Regions from separate parts of the Homo sapiens genome. Here region 1 is linked to region 2. The links are contacts of gene promoters, found by promoter capture Hi-C in human tissues and cell types (Jung and others, 2019). All regions are on one chromosome and are shown on one strand. The core of a region is centred on a gene start or on the middle of the fragment in contact, and the rest is flanking DNA. Distances in the headings are between cores, read along the strand shown. Region 1 overlaps ZFAND6 (zinc finger AN1-type containing 6). Region 2 holds the start of ARNT2 (aryl hydrocarbon receptor nuclear translocator 2).

What was found. The method cuts DNA at HindIII sites, captures the fragments that hold promoters and counts their contacts. A contact is called where the count stands out against the background at its distance.
Region 1: a contact is called between a fragment that was not itself captured here and the fragment with the promoter of ARNT2 in region 2, in 1 of the 25 tissues and cell types used here (hippocampus).

Annotation. Positions count from the first base shown.
Region 1 is chr15:80,068,441-80,073,768 of GRCh38, reverse strand. The region is part of intron 1 of ZFAND6 (zinc finger AN1-type containing 6); the gene reads right to left. Among named protein-coding and RNA genes, the nearest start is that of ZFAND6, 11 kb to the right of the region's middle. The HindIII fragment of the contact is 4,965 bases long and covers 1-4,513 here.
Region 2 is chr15:80,401,557-80,406,973 of GRCh38, reverse strand. ARNT2 (aryl hydrocarbon receptor nuclear translocator 2) reads right to left here and starts at 2,592. Exons shown (of 19, transcript NM_014862.4): 1 at 2,428-2,592. The coding sequence starts at 2,458. It overlaps ARNT2-DT (ARNT2 divergent transcript), which reads left to right and starts at 2,778. Exons shown (of 6, transcript NR_184070.1): 1 at 2,778-2,983; 2 at 3,389-3,472. RefSeq lists an enhancer at 2,661-3,161. The HindIII fragment of the contact is 10,967 bases long and covers 1-5,417 here.

The DNA.
Region 1 (5,328 bases), core at 782-3,281, 330 kb after region 2:
TGAAAACATAAAACTGCACAGATTCATAATTATTGGAAAACTGCAAGAATATAAGACAGAGAAGGGAACAGGAAAAAAATGAGATGACCAAACAATGATCTGCTGGTGGGTAGATAGGTAACTTTTCTTGATTTCATTATTATTACACTATTGTTTAAACAACAGATATAGCAGAAAAGCATTAATTTAAAAACCTTTGCATGATCCGGAACAAGTAGCATAGCAAATACAATGGCTGAAAATGCTTAGCTGGCTTTTGGTCTGATTATTGCAATGATTATTGCAATTTATACCTTAATTTCTATGAGAACAAAGAGCAACAATATAAAGAAAACAGTCTCTAAAAAATATTCTTGTACTGAAATACACTACAATTACGTCATAAATAAGAAATGTAAATAGAATCAGATACTTTAAAAAAAAGTTGTAGTAGCCTACCTATAGCTTTTAAAAATATAAATCCTTTCATTTCCTGTTTCGAAATGTTAATTACTTATCTCCACCTTTGAAAGAAATGAAGAGTTTGAATGAAGTAAGAAGAAAGCAGTTTCACTTTGTTCATCAATGGCCTTTTTAATTATGAGCATATTAAAAATTATAAGCATATTAAAAATGTCAACATATTGTTAAATTAAAATATACTGAAATTAAAAGGGGTGCTGTGCTGGGGTTAAAAAAATTAAACAGTTGGCATTTCAATTTACTAAAAAAGACGTATTTAAGCCTATCACATTTATCTTTCAGCAACTTAACATTTTAAGTTTAAGGAAAATGACATATCAAATGAACCTCCTCAAGATGTCATTTATAAAAACTGACAACTGACTGTTCAAACAACCAATTCAAAAAAAAATCCTGTTATTGGAGATGATTTTGAGTCTAAGATGTTTTAATGACACTCATATTCTGAACTAAAAATAATGATAGGAGAAAGTCAAGTTTGATTCTCTGAACACCTATTTCCTGTCCAAAGAGCCCTTTTGTTCTGCTTCCCTGCTTAATTTTAGTGTTCAGTTTGCATCAGAAAATAAAAACAGTGACAAAACCTAGCACACACAGAATCATAAAGGAGCAAAATTATAAAATAAAGGATCATAAAAAGATTAGAACAAAAATCCTACCAACAAAACCTCCACAATTTTCTGTTTGCTTCACCTCAGATTAACTTCACTTGAAGCTGTACTCCAAAGCAACCAAACCTGAATACCAAGCTCCACCTTCTCCAATTCTAGTGGCTGAAGAGTAAAATCTCCTCCCTGTTAGTGAAACTGATAATTGTGATTGGATACGGCTAATATCCATTATTTTAAAGAACTTTTCCTTGCTAGCAGGTTAGGTTAGACACACTAAAACCTCCTGGATAAGCTGGTTTCTTAAAGAAACAGTACATAAGGTTTCAGTTTTCCCATCATATACTGTTTGCTTACCCTTGTCTAGGTGAAAAATAAACTAAGTAACAAAAATGAAAATCTCACAGAAGCAGCTGTGACCAATTGTTTAAAATACAATGCTTTTAATCTAAATCATTTATTTTTATGGAGCAATGAAGGTGAAGTTATGCTTTAAAGACAGATTATTTTTAATAGAGTTCACATTTTACCTGAAAATTGTAAAACGGCAACAGAAAATCCATTACAATATGTTGCTAAGAGGAACAAACCAATGTTTTTTTCTAAGACTTAAAGAGAAAACTATAACTTAAGTGAAAATATACAGCACTAAAATACTGAATGCAAAAGATTCACTTCTAAGCTATCAAACTCACTGACATTTATGTTCTCAGTATCACAACAGAGTAGAAATTTCAGTGACATCAAAGGTTGATATTTCTACTTAAAACTGAAGAAAATACTGGGCAGAAATACTATTACATTTAACAGATCTGACATGTGAGTATTTTGCCAAGGTTAATGCTTAACCATTGGCAAACAGATATCTAAAAGCAAAAGGCACATGTTCTAATGACATGTTCAGGTATAAAATTTAGAAAAGTTTAAGTCTTTTTCATCTTTTTTTTTTTTTTAATGTGTGGAAACTACTTTGCACTCCATAACTTCAAAGTGGCATGGGCACCCTAAAGTAAAAGGTATACTCCTCTTAAACTTCTCACTAAGCTACGTTAAATAATATTTTTACTACAGAGATCATAAAGAGACACTACACAGGAACTCTGATTTTTAAGCAAAAAAGACCTACTGTCACTTTATACATTACTAAGTTTGCTATTTTTACGTGATAAGTTTATATATTTTAATTAGAACTGCTTATGTTTTAGCAGCTTGGCCCATCAAACATTACTCTAACATTAATCATTATCTGACTGATTAAATGGCATTTAATGTCTAATTTACGGTGTAAGTATAGTTTTTACCTCTACCAAAAATCCTGTGATTCATAAACTCGAAATTAAAGCTTATTAGAGTGACTTCTTCTTAAAATATGCTTTCAATGTATGGTTTGCATCAGAAAATAAAAAGTGACAAAACCTTTAAACATTTTAATTTGAAGTTTTCAAAGTTCAAAATCTTGCAACTATTTTTCCTCAGAGAAAACTCAAATATTAGAACACAAAGCCAACAAAATTGTTTTGAATACAAAGGGAAGTCTTTGTAACAAACTGAAAATTCACATAATTGCAACTAGGCATGAATATGGAGCAATACCCTGCTGAAGCCCAAACAGCTGCATAATCTATTATGCCCTTTAAGTGGACAAATTGAAAGAGCCAATTCACAGGGGTCTACTCCCAAGATCCTTTGCAAGGATTCACTGTTTTGAATGCCCAGCACTTCATGAGTCAAGTTCAGGTTTTCTTCCCACTGTGTGGACACTCTTGCAAAAGAACACTGGAAGCAGAGGAGGTACAGAAGCAATCAGCAAAAAGAATATACAGTTTGAATTACAGCATAAGATTTGAGGAAAAGTGACTGTAGATGGCCAAAGGTTTTACGGGAAGAAAAAAAAAAGAGATGGCAAACAGTTTAATCTTAAAATCTGGCAAGCATAAAATTAGTAAATAGTTATGGAAACCAAATAAACCTTTGCTCTCGCATCAATTTTTCACTTCGAAGTTAATTATGAAACAAATACGAATCATACACTAATATAACACCAAGACCACTCTCCATCTATACATAACCAAGAGAAAAGAGAACTGTGGACTCAGTGATTCCGGATCATTTTAAGATCTCTGGGACCTGCTTGAAAGAACATCAAGATGATTACCATTTTAGGTAGCAAACAGGTTAAAATTAAGAGTTAGCTTATTTCATTTCTAAATCAGCAGCAGCAGAAAACAACAGCAAAAACAAAAAGAAAGCAATGTCACAACCATAAAATGTATAACCGAGATAATATGAAAACAATATTGCTTCTCAGGAACAAGGAGCCTGCAAAAAGCTCTGGAGCTCCCTGATTGCATGCAGTAACAACACTTTTTAAGCATCAAGTATTCAAAGATGTATTGTATATTATTTGTGGAAGCCCAGAAAGTTTCCCAAATCTTATCAGCTAAAAACAATTTAGAAGAGAACAAGCCACTGAACAATTTGGTCCCACTTCACTTTTGATTAAAAAGACCCTACTTACATAAAGAATCAATATCTAGACTATTAGGAACAACTTTTGGCAGAATATATACAGAACAGGGCAAACACTTTCTTAGAATTTTGAAGGATTCCATATAGTTCAAACTGCTCTTCCTACAAAAGAAATTAATCCTGGGCATTTTCTCTGGCACGACTGGTGGTTTATTGTAGTAGTTGATAAAAAGACCACCCTGACATTAGCAAAACATAACTGGGATCACTAAGGATAAACTCTGAAAAACACCTCAATGGGGAATAAAAAATAAAAAAATATGGCCAGGTGTGGTGGCTCACGCCTGTAAATCCCAGCACTTTCGGAGGCAGAGGCAGGTGGATCACAAGGTCAGGAGTTCAAGACCAGCCTGGCCAAGATGGTGAAACCCCGTCTCTACTAGAACTACAAAAATTAGCCTCGTGCAGTGGCAGGTGCCTGTAATCCCAGCTACTTGGGAGACTGAGGCAGGAGGATTGCTTGAACCCGGGCAGCAGACATTGCACTCCAGCCTGGGCTATAGAGTAAGACTCTGTCTCTAAATAAATAAATAAATAAATAAATAACAAAAAATAAAAAAAATATTTCCCTGGCAAAAGTAAGATATATTTGAGCCTGCAATTCCTGGTGTATCTCTCCTGACTCCTTAGGGAAAAGATTACAAGGTGTGTATGAGGAGTTGGGGAGTTTGAATGAATGGCATATGAGGTCAAACACTGAACACAAAGGAAACATTAAGGAAACATACAAATAAGCAAGCATAAACCAAGCCGATAGGATAAGGTATCTTTCTACAAAAAAACAGTACATTGCTTTGTTTTAGGTCTCAAGGGATAAACAAGGTCACTGATTAATGCAAAATAAAAAGAAACAGGGATCACAATAGTGAGACAAAAATAAAAGAGAAGGCATTTATAATACTCAACTATTAAGATTTTAAGTCATAAATTTTCATGTGCCAAACAACATATCATAGATCATCTAAGAAAAAGTGCTAGACATAGAAAAACTAAGAGAAAATAGACTGGCCAACTTTAAATTCTCTCTCTCCTTGGAGGCCTAAACCAGAAAAAAATAAATAAAATATTACATAAAAGACGAAGACTCATTCTTTATATAGTTACTGAAAGAGCTTTTCTCAACCATTTTAATCAGTCACAAAGAAAACAATTCTGAAAAGCAAAAGCTGAATAGGTAACATTCTCTGTAAACTATGCAATAACATTCAAAAGTTAACAGAGTTAGTTTATTCATTCACCAAATCTTTTGAACGTCTGTTATGCGCTGAAGATACCACAGTAAATAAAATGGATATAGTCCCTACCACTGTACAAACTTATGGTCGAGTCAGACCAGTGCTGTCTCACAGAAACATAATGAGAGCCACATGTGGTTTTCTATTTCCTAGTAGTCACATTGAAATTTAAAAATTGGCTGGGCACGGTGGCTCACGCCTGTAATCCCAAGACTTTCAGAGGCCAAGGCAGACAGATTACTTGAGCTCTAAAGTTCAAGACCGGCTGAGCGCGGTAGCTCACGCCTATAATCCCAGCACTTTGGGAGGCCACAGTGGGCGGATCACCTGAGGTCAGGTGTTCGAGACCAGCCTGGCCAATATGGCGAAACCCAGTCTCTACTTAAAATACAAAAATTAGCCAGGCGTGGTGGCACTCGCCTGTAATCCCAGCTACTCCGGAGGCTGAGGCAGGAGAATCACTTGAACCCGGGGGCTGGAGGCTGCAGTTAGCC
Region 2 (5,417 bases), core at 1,343-3,842:
CTCTCTCTCTTTGGCTCAAACCCTGAGCCATGTCCCTTAAAATTAAACCCTTTCTCCCAAAGAAAAAGATGGAGATTCACATGGGGCAATAATAACACATCCCCACGGATCATCCTCAGGGGACCAGTAAAAGAAATGATGGTAAAAGGAAAGGTGATCACCTCAAGGAATTTTCCCTTGAGAAATTATCACCATGCTGAAGATCTCTGGTATAGCTGTCAACAGAGAAAAGCATCTGTCAAGCTGGCCAGGTGTTGACTAGCAACGCCAACAATACCCTATGCTTGTACCATTCAAGTCTCCCGCAGTCCAAGGCACAGGCACAGGCTTTCCTGTGCTTCACACCACGGGGCCAGGGGCAGTTACTCCATCTTTAGATCTTTAGTCCATGTAGCTCATGGAGCAATGTAATGGACAAAAAAGTTTTAAACAATGATGTCCTGGCATAGAAATTATGTAAATCACCAGGGATTTTATTCCTGTTCCCAGTGTATATTGGACTAAAATGTTTTCATTTAACATCTTTTGCTTTTTCTAATTTCATAACATTTACATCTATCAATTTTCCATTGATTTTGAAGTAGTTGAATGGGTTGAAATTGCAGCTTCAGTCACAGGCAAACTGGCACAGATTTGTTTTCAGACCAGCCACGTTCCTCCTCAGTGTTCTGGACAGAGGCCTCCTTGTCTGTTCTTCCAAGAGTCCCTATTTCTGCTGATGGAACTGCCTTCCTTGGAATTACACAGGCTCTTCACCTTGGTGTCTCCATGGACACCTCCCCTTTGTCTCTCCTTGGCCTCCTCCTTTACTCTTACTCCAAATCTAATCAGTGCCAAATCTGGAACTCTTCTACCCGCCCAGTGGTGCATTCCTTCCTCTCTGGTCCAGCCATGGCCACCAATTCTGGCCTCCCCAGCACCTGCCTCATTTCATGCTGGCCTCCCTGTCTCAAGTCTTGTTCCCTCCTTAGAATGTTTCCTAGACATAGCTGACAAATCAGTCTTCCAGAAAAAGTGATCATGCGATTTCCTTGTTCAATACCATTGAGGTCTCTCTCTCTCTCTCTCTGTCTCTCTCTCTCTTTTCTATTTTATTTTATTTTTCTGGTTCTTAGGAAGTGTGCAGAGGACTCTCCCTTAATGTGGAGAGAGAAAGTCCATACTCCTCAGTCTGTCCTTTAAAGCCTGGTCACATCCAAACAACTCAGTGTTAAATCCCACTGCTGCCTCTTATATCCCCAGTGCACCAACTACTCACTGACCTCTGCACTTGCTTAGAGCAAGTCCACTGTTACTTACGCCTGCAATGCCCCTCTGCTACTGGCTCTGTATATTCAAACATTCCCGTTTTCAAGGTTCAGCCGAAATGTCCAATCTCCAGAAGCCTTCCCTGGCCGCCTTAGATGAAAGGGATCTTTCATTCCTAATTCTATGATGAGAGACACTTTTCTTTGCTAGGCATTGCTGTTCCTCCCCCGACCCTCCCTATCTCCAACACATGACCTCCCTCTGCTGGGAATTTCCTGGGGGCCGCCCTCTGTGACTCTCCCTGCATCTTCCACAGGGACCCAGCAACCTGCCGTGCCCACAGCAGCCTCTGCACAACACCCAAAAGTTTGTACTAGCTTAGATGTTCACGTTTCTCTTCTCCCACACCCTGCTCATCAGGTAGGGAACTTTCCCAGTGAAAACGGAACTTCCCTACTACAATACCAAAACAAGTCAATGTTGCCACTTGATCAAGAACTCTTCCATTTTTGAAATATTTCCTAATGAGCTCAGTTGTCACAGACTGCACCCTGGGGACAGGTCAGACCAGAAAGCAGAGGATGTCACCTGGGCAGGACCAGGGCTGCTCCACGCTGGTGACCACAGGCTGGGTGTTTTGTGCCCCCGGAGGGTTAGGACACACAGCAGCCAGTCGCAAAGGGCGCAAAGGACCAGCGCTTAGTGGGCGGGGCGGGCAGGGGAGAGTCCCGGGAGTTGTACCCTGTTGAATCCCAGCTCCAAACTTTTCCCTCCGTCAGCGCGGAGCCCTCCACCAGCCAGGACTGGCTGACGCCGTGATGCCACAAAAGCCGGGACCGGAAGAGAAAAATGCGTGGGATGGGGAAGGCAAAGGCGGTTATTTTCAGAACTTCGGGGGCTCCCGGGCCTGCCCTTCGGGTTCCCGAGGATGCGAGGCCAGCGTCCGGCCGCCCGCGGGTCCGGACCGGCGCCTGCCCGGGACCGGATGGGCAGCGATTGGGATGCAGATGCCGCTCTGGTGCTGATGCTGCGGCTGCCGCGTAGTGACAGCCGCTCCACCACCCACCGCGCCGAGCTGCGGCTCCGCGCCCCCGGGGGCGCCCGGCGCGCCTGGTCCGCTCCGGCCCCGGGCAAGGCCTGCGGGCTGCGGCGGGCGGCGGGGCCCAGGCCGCTACTCACCCGGAGGGTTGACCGCCGCCGGGGTTGCCATCTTGCTCGGAGAGGATAGGCGCCCGCTTGGCAGGGGCGCGGGAGGGGCGGCGCGGAGCCCGGCGCTCAGCCCCGGGGACCCGGTCAGGCCCAGGCGCCGCCGCCGCCACACAAAGGACGGCGCGGGCGGGCGGCGCTCCCTCCGCTCTCCCCGCCGCCGCGGCCGCTCGCCGTCCCCGCCTTTCTCTCCTCCTCCTCCCCCTCCTCGGCCTCCTCCTCCCGGTTCAGCCTTTGTCGCGCGGCGGGGGGCGCCCGGCCCGCGGCTCCCCGGTCAGAGCGGTAGCACCGCGAGACTTGGGGCTGCGGACGGCGGGACCCCCAAGTTGGGCGCCGGCGACTGGCGGGGGCAGAGGGCCGGGCGCTCCCTCGGGCTCGCGCAGGTGCTCGGGCCTGGCCGGGCTGGGACCGCAGGCGCCTCTCCCGCGCTCGCCTAGCCCGGGCTGCCCCCGCACGCCCACGCCCCAGGTGTCCGGGCGCGCTTTACCCAGGGGCGCCGTGCCCAGGCCAGGAGGCCAGGGCGGAGCGGGTGAGGGAGAAGCCCATTTAGATTCAGAGGGAAGCCGGTCCTGGGAGACGGCCGCGAGGAACAAAGGCGCCCCAGTGCTGCCCACTTAGCATGCCAGAGCCGCGCTGCTCGGCTCCCAGGCCGGGGACACGGCCCGGTGTTAAGCGGAGGGTGCCCGACCGCGGGAATTCCTAAGGCCACGCGCACCTCCAAGGCCACCGCCGCACACAGCTTCGGAGTGCACAGTGCACACGCCCAGGCACAGGCAGCCGGCCCGAGAAATTGTGAATGTCTTGGCTTTGAGTAAGGCGCTCATCTCTACCCTCCTTCCATAATGACTGCCGTTGATTATTACTTGAGGGCGCTGCAAGGGCCTTATTTACACCACCAAGTTGAGAATTTAAAAAGATTTTTTTTTTTAAATAGGTTTATCTGCGTATCCTGGCGAAGTTTGGATGCAGAGAACTTGGAGCTGTTGTTTTCTACCAGACACTAGGATCCCTGAGAGAGGTAATGGCCCCTAGGAAGGACACGTCACCATCGGGGTCCCCTGTAAAGGTTAAATGGAAGAATAAAGACATCCCAGGTGAACGCTGAGAAGGGCAAGTTGGTCCCTAAACGCAGATAATGTTTGCAGAGACATCAAACTGTCTTAAATCCTTCCAAGGAAGCATTTTCTGGAGGGCAGAAAATTTGGGATGTATGTTCAAATAAGCATTTTCTTCGGGGAGTATTTGTCACTACTAATCTAATAGTCTATCAGTTCTACAAATGTTGAATGTCTGCTGTGTGCCAGGCACAAAGCCAGGTGTTGGGCCTACCATGGAAAGGAAGAAACAGGAGCTCTGTTCTTCTGGTTTGGGGGGTAGAGTGGGGAAGAGTGAAACAAAGTATCTGCACTCAAGAAGCACACAGCTCCCTTGGGGGCTTAGGGCAGAAGCCCTGAAATTGGCATCTCCAGCCTGTAGTCACTAATGAATGAATGAGGGCAGAGAGGAGGTGGAGTGATCAGGGAAAATGAAAATTAGGCTTTGAAGACATGAGTAGGACAGGTGGAAAAAGAAGACATTTCAAGTAAAAAATAAAGCAGGTGTGCACCCAGCCACAAGATAGGCCAGGCCCAGACAGAGAAACCAGGGTATCAGCTATGGCCCGCTCTTGTGCCCCGTATCAAAGTTGACTGTTCCTGATTCCAACATCAAGCCAAATGAGAATTCAGCCTCTCTTCTACATACCCCGAAAAGCAACACACTCAAAATACCAACTTAATTAATGTATAACGTATACTGGACTGAAGATTTCTTAAGGAAAGTAAAAGAGGAGGCTCTCTTCACTCACTCCACATCAAAAAAGGTAAAACTCCATCTCAGATATTTCTGCTACCCAGAGTCCCTTCTGGATCCTTCTCCCCACAGGCAGTTCAATCTCTGGTGGCCCATAAATAGCCCATAAATAGCACTTGGCATCACTGCCCCCTATCCCACGAGGCTCTTTTATTCTCCAACTTTCCACACCCCTTAGAAGGAAGCAAGTTCCTCTCCTTGGTGTTTATGTATCAGTTTAGCATTTCAGCCAGGACCCATGGCTCATTTTGTCTCCAAATACAGTTCTAATATCATCCCTAAAAAATAAAATATGAGTGAACATGACTCTTACGCACACACACATTTAACCATACAAATTTGTTGACAAGTTTTACTTTCTTACTCTGCTGTTGTGTTCTGCCCATTTTTCTAAATGTTACTCGGCTGATATCTTTAAAACTGGATCTTGCTCAAGCTTCCTACTTCTTGCACTGGTCCATTGCAATAAAAGACAGGCGACACGTGGACAACTGCTAGACACTTCCCAAGTCTGGAGTCGGCCGTGCTGTGGTTTTTGGTACGTAATAAATACGTTTAGATTTTCACAAAGGAGACATTTCATCTTCTCCCCCAGTCAGTGTATTTCAGAGGTAGAAAGGACCTTCGACATCATCCAATTCTGCCCCTGGAGTTTGCAGATAAGGAAACTGAGGCTCAGGGTAGCCAACGTCATGCAGCTTAATAGCCAGACAAGACTTAGAACTGGGCTACGCACAATACTGGGATTTGGTGGCTGGAGTTGGGGAGCGGTTAGGGTGTAGGGGAAGAAATAGAGAAATGGGCAACTCGCCTTCTCTCTCGTCTCTCAGTATTAAATAGGTTAAATGCTCAGAAACACTGATTGTGGATGAAAGCCCCCCACTTAAGTAAACAATCTGAAATGGAGTGGTTAGTCATTGTTGAATACTGAGTGGCATTTACACAACACAGTGGTCTTGCGCTAATTATGAGAGTCAGTAGACTGTGACCAGTTAACACAGGCTCAGGAATTCCACTCAACCTTTAAACAACCCAGAACTCTTTGAAATTCCAGAGGAGGCTGTTGAATTTGAAGCTGAGATTTGCATTTTTGAAAAGATTAATGCAGATCC